3 separate regions of the Homo sapiens genome follow, and all the other regions are linked to region 1. The links are contacts of gene promoters, found by promoter capture Hi-C in blood cells and fetal thymus (Javierre and others, 2016). All regions are on one chromosome and are shown on one strand. The core of a region is centred on a gene start or on the middle of the fragment in contact, and the rest is flanking DNA. Distances in the headings are between cores, read along the strand shown. Region 1 holds the start of GCC2 (GRIP and coiled-coil domain containing 2). Region 2 holds the start of MRPS9 (mitochondrial ribosomal protein S9). Region 3 holds the start of TGFBRAP1 (transforming growth factor beta receptor associated protein 1).

Region 1 (2,644 bases), core at 80-2,579:
TTATGCAACTACTATGAAACGTAAAAACCAGGCCATATCCTCTTATAGCTAATGTTACAGGTTGACATTGCTAGCTTTTGATTTAATTGTAAAATCAGTAGGTTGGAGCTAATGCTACTTAAAATTCCTTGGAGCTGTAAAATTATTTCATTCTATTCAAGGCTGCAAGTCTTTGGTCACAAGAAAATTTACGCATAATTACAGCAGCAAGATGAACCGGGTAACATTCAGGCTTTAATTAAAAAATTGAGCTTTACCACTTGAGAAAATTGCTTAAGCCTGTGGTCTCAGGTTTCTCATCTGTAAAAGGAGGGTAACAACAGTACCTATCTCATGGTTATCATGAAGCTTAAACGAAGGAACTGAGTGGTTAGGCAAGCGCCAGAAATTTAGCATGCACACAATAAACCTTAGCAATAAACCACTATCATTTAGAATGATTGAATGTTAAACATTGTACAGGGCCATAAAACTGGACTAATTAAACTCTTTGGCAATGTAGAAACTGGAGCCCACAGATCAGAATCCCTTGATTCCTACCCTATGTCACTGCTCCTTCCACTACACCACTATATAAACCTTCTTAGACTGCTTTATGTTCGAAAAATAGCAGGATCTCCCAGCAGTGCTAACCAGGAGCAGGAAGCAAACAAAAAGTCTTTCTATATCGGGGTGGGCGGGGGAGAAACAGGAAATGGGCGATTGCGCACACTAAAATTGAGATCCCTTGGAGCAAGGCTATTAAAAAAAAAAAAATCAGCGCCCCCCCCTTCCCCATGCCAAAGTTTTCCAATTCATCACCCTTCCACTCTTCAGGAAGCCCGCTATTCAAGTATTCTCTTCACCTTAGATTTCCCGGTCCCAGGGGTAGCTGGTGAAGCCACCCCATCTTGAACAAGATCCTGCAAAACAAAATCAAACCCAGGTGTCAGAAGAACTCTTTTCCTAATTCCACACGGAACGCGTAGAACCCTTACAGGGAAAAACCTTCTATGGAATCAAGTGGTGGAAAGCCTCGTGAGACAGAGAATGAGGGCGGACGGAGGCGGTCGCTGTGGCAATTCGTACACAAACGGGCTCTACGGGGCAGGTAACCCCCAGGGATAGAGTTTACGAAAGATGGGGAGGCGACAGCAGCGCGGGCTTCGGGACACCAAGAGGGAGACTACCGCGCCCTCCCATCGGGCCCACTCCCACATCCCAAATCGCGGCGCGGAAGGCTTGATGGGAGGCAGTGGGCCCGACCTGAGTTACCTCCATCTCCGCCAGCCCGCCGCCGGCCCGCAACCAGCCGCCGCCACCGCTGCACTTCTGTTTGCGCCAGCCTCTGACGTAGGCTCTACTGCAGGTCAAAGGTCGCGCTCTCCGGGCGGCCCGCCCCCCACGTCTCCATAGCTACAGCTCGGCAGCACTTCCGCTTCCGTGTCTGCGTCCGGGAGAAGGTTCCCCGTACGGCGCTAAGGGCGGAGTCCGTCTAGACGTTCTACCTGGGGCTCGACCCCTGGGCCTGCAGGTCACGGAGTAGGTGTGGGTCCCGCCACTGCCGGTTATTGGCATGGGAAGGCGGGCCGATTACCCCTTGGGGCCTCGGGCCTCGGTTTCCACGTCTGTAAAATCTTGTGAGAGTGAGGAACATTGGATTGCAGGACAGGTCTCTCAGTCCTCCAAAGGTGTCCGCTAGCCTGCGAGTGCCTGCGGGACCCACAGCTGGTTCCGGGGGGCTCCTTAGGCATTTGTGGCCAGCATGGTGCCCGGGAGCTCCGTGACTCACAGGTCAGGGATGCGGTAGAGGGCTTCCCTGAGGAGGCATTTCTTGACTCTGGAGGCTGTGAGGAGGTCCCTGGACAGCTCTGCCCTGCAGCCGCCCGGTACTGATGGTGATGTGGTGGAGGCAAGATAGTCGGCCAGGGAACTGGGCAGCCGTGGGAGGAGACTCTGTAGAGTAGGGGGCCCGAGGCCACCCTTTCCCGAAGGGCACGCCAGAGAATCTGTGGTCGAATCCCAGAGCTGCTGCTGTGTCCTGATTGGCGGTCCAGTGCTCTGAGAGCCTTTCTGTTAACTGCTGAAGTGGTTTGCTGCGCTTTCACCTTCCCATTAATGTTTTCCATACACTCCCATAACTAAGGTAACCTGAAGATAACCTAGTTTCCTGTAGTTTAAATGGTCAAAAGGTTGAAGAGGCAGCACACAGTATGTATCGAGTAAATGGTAGCTGATTATTACTAGGTAAAAGAAGTGTTATAAACGAGAAAGAACAGCTATTGTGGACATCTACTCTTTGTCTTTGACAGTGTGTATCACCTATGGTGTTTGTAGGATTGGTTCAGGGGTGGTGTGTGACCTAAGATGTACAGTCTCCACGTACAGTAACACACGTGTGTGTGTACACGTGTGTGTGTACACGTGTGTGTGTGCACGTGTGTGTGTGCACGTGTGCGCGCACGTGTGTGTGCACGTGTGTGTACACACATATATGCACACACATGTATACACACACACACACACAATCCCCAAGTATACATTGTTATTAATGGTCCAGATTAATGCCATTCAAAGTAGTTCCCCAAGTTAAGAGCAACTTACGGTAGACTCCTATTTCAATTAATAACTTGAAAAAATCACTTGCAATAAAATAGCAGGTTAA
Region 2 (2,644 bases), core at 105-2,604, 3.4 Mb after region 1:
ATAGTCCCTCTCATAATCATGCGTATGTAGCAAAGATATACTCAAAGAGATGCATGAAAAAATAAAAATTTCTAGCACATTTTCCAGTAAGAAAAAAAAAAAAAACAAATGTCCACATGAATAGATAGAATGGACTGGTTGATCTAGATTAAAATATAAAGGAAAGAACATACAAAAAGATGTTTTTTTTTTTAAATATAGTTTTTAAAGTATGGTATTTGACTTTCCTGCAATAATTGGTACTTGTTATCACTCTCCCTCCTTGAAACATTCACCTGTTTTCCATGACACCACACTGGCTGGTTTCTCTCCTGCTTCTTTGGTCCCTCATTCTCAATCTCTTGAGGCCTCTTATTTCTTATTTGTCCTTCAGGGCCCTGTCCCTCTGCCTACTCCTCAGTACACTCTCCCTAGGTAATTTAATTTGTTTACAAGGCCTCAGTTACCATTTACAAGGTAACAGGGCATTTCGAAATCAGTTCTCCTCCTGAGCTATACACTTGACTATCCGTAGACCTACTGGAAATCCCAGATGCCTAAAAACATAATCCCATACTAAACTCGTTTCTTCCCTCTCAAATCTTTTTCCTGCTCTGAGATCGCATGTCAGTAAACTGGCATCATCAGCCATCCAGCTGTTGACTCCCCACTTCTCCCTGGATTAAACGAAACGTACAAGTTCTGGCCTGCATCTTTCCATAGAGGGGGATTCGGGAAAATTAAGAAGCCAGAAATTGCGCATATTGAAGGCACTTTCAAAAAGTCACTGTCCTCTACACAACGTGACTTTCTCCATTGTCTTCCAGGCACCTGCAGGAATCCAATTCCCATCATTCTTCTCTGGCGCGGCCCTCCTCCTCCCTAGACAGCAGGGCAGGGTAGGACTGGACCCAACACAGACCTAGGCACCGACCCTTACTTAGCTCAGCAGCCAAATGAAGGAGGAGGTCGCTCCACTTCTACCTTCAGGTAAGTTCCCCTCGCTGCACCCCGCAAAAAAACAAGTAACAACCTCTAGAGCGGCTACTGCACGCCAATACCCACCTCCTCCCCCCCAACCTCAGACCTCCACTAAATACCTAAGATCCTAGAGTCCCTGCCTGAAGGCACGCGAGACGCTGGGGGAAGGTGTCCGCGCTGGCTCCACATCCTCGCGCGGCAGAGGTAAGCCGCTTCCAGTCTTCCCAGGCCTTACCTGGGATCTGACATTTGTTTGCAACTCAGGGGCCGCGGTTTTCCAGAGGCCTTGCTTCCGGGCGAGGCTACCCCTACCCCAGAGAAGAAGCCGGTACGAAACTGCTCCGCCGTAGGACACACAGGGCGCCGCCATGTTAGCTGTGGGAGCTCCAGGACCGGAGGGGTGAGGGGGCGGGGCCTAGAGACGGCGCAGGCGCTAATGGCGCGGGGTTCCAGAGGCTGTCCTGTGCAAGAGCTTCTCGGGCCTTTGGATCAGGGGGCGTGTCCCGCGATCCGCGACAGCTCGTCGCTGATTGGGTGCATGGTGTCCGCGGGGCGTATCCGACTCCACCCCTGCTCGGTGTCGACCTCAAGAAGGATCGCTGGTGGGTCGTTTTTCTCGGCCTCTTTCTCTTCACGTCCTGAACTCAGTCTCTTCGGGACTCACTTCCACGCTCTCCTAGTCTCTTTGGCACTCACATCCACGTGGCGCTTTAGCCAGCCCTTCCTTCCCAGCCCCCTTGCTGCACCTCGAGCCGGCTCTTCCTCCACCTGGGCAGGGCGGCCGGGGCCCCAGATGCGCTCCAAGCCTTGATTCCTGTCTGCCTTATCCTAGTAGGGGTTTTCCCCTCCTCTAACTTTCCACGTTCGTCTGGTTCCAAGTCAAGACTCTCCTGCAGCAACTGTCAAGCCCCTCTCGGTTCCCTGGCACTCTCCTGCGTTGTTTCTTAACTGTATAATGCACAGGATAAACCTTAAACCGGTAAGGTCAAACACTACCTTTCTCGTTTTTGCACGCCCCTCCCTAAGCGTTGGTACTAAGCCTTACTTGAAACCCAATCAGAACTGATTAATTGTTGAATAGAGATGAGTATGTCTTGCTTTCTGAAACTTGCGTGCTCCTGGCAGTTAACTCCCAGGTTGCTTTCTACGAAACACATACTAAATGATGTAGTAACGCACTTTAAAAGGGTTTACACACACTTAGATTTGAAGGGTCAGTAAAAGTAAAACACACAGAAAATCTGAGATCATACAAAGTTGTCAAGCAAATAAATGCCGTCTACTATCACCATCATTTCACGAAACAGAACTTTTTAGCATTAAAAAGGTAGAATGGCAGAATTTCACAATAAAGAAAAATCTTTTAAATGGAATACATTTACTTGTATAAAATGCTCATCCTGTTGTTCTTTTTGTTATTAGCTTTTAGACTAGCAAAAGATATCTTGAGAAATTGGCAGAGGTCGGAGGACTAAACTCTGATTTTTTTATCTTGCCCAAGATTCCTATCTACAGGATTTGGGGAGTCATGCCCTACAAATCATAAATTCTTATTAGATGGGTTTTACTTAACCCTATATATGGTGACTTACTTTCCAACCTGACTCTGGCATAACATTACAAGACAAGGAAGAAAATCAAAATATTTTACCCCAAAACATGTTTCTTTGCCATATCTTGAAAT
Region 3 (2,644 bases), core at 86-2,585, 3.1 Mb after region 1:
TCACATAGTCTCTGTGAGCCTGGGTAAAATGAAGAGACTGGATTTGCTCTTGTACCTTCCCAATCCCTGGCTCCACTAGCTGTTGGCCACCTTAGACTTGAAGGTCCATTCACTGCTGCTTGCCCTTGAAGCTCAATTGCTGGTCAGAGCTTTACACTCCTGGGAAGCCAGTCCCCTACCTGGAGGCTGAGCCGGTGACACTGGTTCCACTGGGTCACAGCTGAAGCACCACTGGGGATGGGGCATTTATGTGGCCATGAGTCACACTAGGGTAGGGGTAGAGGGCAAGTCACAGGAAGATTGTTGGGTTTTTTTTTTTTTTTTTTTTTTTTGGCCAGTTTCTTTTCTTTCTTTTTTTATCCCTTTGAAACAGAAGACCATGGCGTACAATCTGGTATCTGCCTTCAGGGTTGGGATAATATCTTTGTTTTACAATACTCAGAGTGGCTGGAAGAAAGCTGAGGCCACAGGTCACTAGCAGGTTCTAAAGTCTGAAAATCCCTGGGAAAATTTGACTTTTTATATGCTAATAATTGAGTACTGACAACTCTGGAGGGAGCTTTCCAATTCTTCCGTCATGAAAGTGGACTTTGTATACTAAAGAGGGGTTCATGGATTCATGGTAACCTACAATTCTTCCTTGCGGCCTGAACCAAAGGAATAGCAGCTACAGTTGGGTTTTCCTAAAAGGAGTAAGATAGTCCCAGGCCTCCCTTCTCAAATAAGTGTATCAAGCAGGTGGACTCTGCCAGTCGGGGGTCCCGGTCAATCCCTAGGGCCCTGGGGCGCCATGGGCCTCGTGGGAGGGCTGCGCATCCCAACCATGCCTTCGTCTCCTGGTGGGGCACCGGCGGTACGTCCGATCCTCCAGCCCGCGTGGTCAGGCGGCCGCGGGCCCAAGCATTTCCCAGGGCCCAAGCATTTCATTCATTTATTCATTCACGCAGCAGGTATTTCCCGGGCGCCCTCCTCCTGTGTAGGTGACAGAAACTGGGTGGCGAGCGAGCCAGGCAAAGCCCGGCTTCCCTGAAGCTCCCCGCAGCGGCGGGGGCGGAGAAGAGACCTCAGCCCCGCGGGCTCGCACAGCTGGCGCGGACCACGCTCTCGCCCGGGGCCGGCGGCCTCAGCGCCCCCCGAATGAACACCTTCCGCCCGCTGGCCGCCCCGCGAGGCGGGCCGTGTCGTGGCCCCGGTGCACGGAGGGGGACGCCGAGGCCCGGAGCAGGGCCCGTCTCGGCCTGTGCTCGGAGCCAGGCGGCAGGGCCCGCGGGCCGGCGGGCGGCGCGGAGACGGCTGCGCTCCCGCCCTCCGCCAGCGCCTGGCGGCCGCCCCACGTGACGGGAAGCGGCGGCTGCGGGGTCGGGCCAGCCCAGGAGCCGCGGGCCGGAGCGGGGCGGCGGGGCCCCAGGCCGCGGGGCGGCGCGGGACGGCGGGCGCCGGCGCCGGTGAGTGAGGAGGGCGGCGGGGCGCGGGGTGCGGGGCTCAGGGCGCGGGGCGCGTGGGGCAGGAGGGCGGGGAGCAGGAGTGGGGGGTAGGCGGCGGGGCGGGGTGGAGGGCGAGCCCGTGCGTGTGCGCTGGGGCAGGTGTAGTGGGGGCTGGAACGCGGGGTGGGGGGAGCAAGTGGCTATACACTTGGGGGCAGGTGTGCGGGTGTGCGACTTGGTAGCTGTCCCTTGTGGGGGCCGGCTAGCCTGCTGGGGTGAGCAAATAAGTGTTCACGTGTGTGTGGGATGAAGTGTGCACGGGTGTGGGGTCAAGTGTGTATGTTGTGTGTGAGGAGTGCGTGTGTGTTTAGGGCAAGGGAAGACCTGAGAGACCTCGTCCTTGATTTGGGTTTTCCGGGGAGAAGGGCCAGGAAGGACTTGCACCTCCATCCCTGGTATGGAATGGTTTTGGCGCTGTGATTGAGGTTTCTGGGAGCTCTTTGGATTTGAGAGCTCAAATTCGGGTCACACTCAGGCCTGAATTGTCCTGATCTGGAGAGTAGGCAGGGGTGTGTTGGGGAGTAGGGAAAAGTGCTGTGCTGGGCTTCCTGGCCCCTGTTTTTAGCACCAGGTCAAGGGCTGGAAGCTGTCATCCCTGTGGAATTGTTTTCTTTCCATTGCCTTCTGGAGGTGCAGGTGCAAGTTAGTCCGCCTGCCTCCCTGTGTTAAGTGTTGATATCCTTAAACACGGAAGCTGTCCGGTTGTCTGCACCTGCCGTGGCTTCTACCCAAGGACTGTTGAGTGACCCTCAGGAAGCCTCCTACCTGGCTGCTAAAAATGGGGGCTCACAGATCACACAGCAGGCCTTACTGCACGTGGACTGCACGCGCAGCTGTGGTCAAAACATGTCTGAGCAGAGTTTAATCACTGATGAAGTGCTCATGGGCAAGCACCTTGTCTATCAGGAAGGAAGGCAGCTGCGGGTGTGATTGTGGTGGCAAGTTAAGGCACTGAGAAGGTGTGCAGGGAAGATCCTACTGCGTTGTGTGTGTTGGCTTGGTTGGAGTCAGGATGAACGAATGTAGAGGGACTGTGTGGTGGCTGCTACTCTCTCATGGTGGACATGCTTCTCTCTGTTGGTCAGCCGGAAGCTGGCAGACAACTGAGAGCTCGCAGTTCCATGGTCAGTCAGAAGGAACATTTGGTCAGCTGCTTCCTT

Evidence for each region. Contacts are between HindIII fragments. The CHiCAGO score rates a contact against its expected background, and 5 or more counts as called.
Region 2: the fragment with the promoter of MRPS9 here is called in contact with the fragment with the promoter of GCC2 in region 1 in 2 of 17 cell types (non-activated CD4 T cells and fetal thymus); the score reaches 6.8 in non-activated CD4 T cells.
Region 3: a contact is called between the fragment with the promoter of TGFBRAP1 here and the fragment with the promoter of GCC2 in region 1, in 1 of 17 cell types (naive CD8 T cells). The highest score is 6.8, in naive CD8 T cells.

Annotation. Positions count from the first base shown.
Region 1 is chr2:108,447,891-108,450,534 of GRCh38, reverse strand. It overlaps GCC2 (GRIP and coiled-coil domain containing 2), which reads right to left and starts at 1,329. Exons shown (of 23, transcript NM_181453.4): 1 at 1,255-1,329; 2 at 846-902. The coding sequence starts at 1,260. RefSeq lists enhancers at 1-339, 425-1,406, 1,243-1,502, 1,407-2,389. The HindIII fragment of the contact is 5,578 bases long and covers 351-2,644 here.
Region 2 is chr2:105,036,779-105,039,422 of GRCh38, reverse strand. MRPS9 (mitochondrial ribosomal protein S9) reads right to left here and starts at 1,354. Exons shown (of 11, transcript NM_182640.3): 1 at 1,196-1,354. The coding sequence starts at 1,330. It overlaps MRPS9-AS2 (MRPS9 antisense RNA 2), which reads left to right and starts at 927. Exons shown (of 3, transcript NR_110603.1): 1 at 927-969. RefSeq lists enhancers at 372-1,314, 1,068-1,397, 1,568-1,617, 1,668-1,717, 1,738-1,947. The HindIII fragment of the contact is 6,591 bases long and covers 1-2,644 here.
Region 3 is chr2:105,328,426-105,331,069 of GRCh38, reverse strand. TGFBRAP1 (transforming growth factor beta receptor associated protein 1) reads left to right here and starts at 1,335. Exons shown (of 12, transcript NM_004257.6): 1 at 1,335-1,445. RefSeq lists a silencer at 1,021-1,450. The HindIII fragment of the contact is 18,854 bases long and covers 1-2,644 here.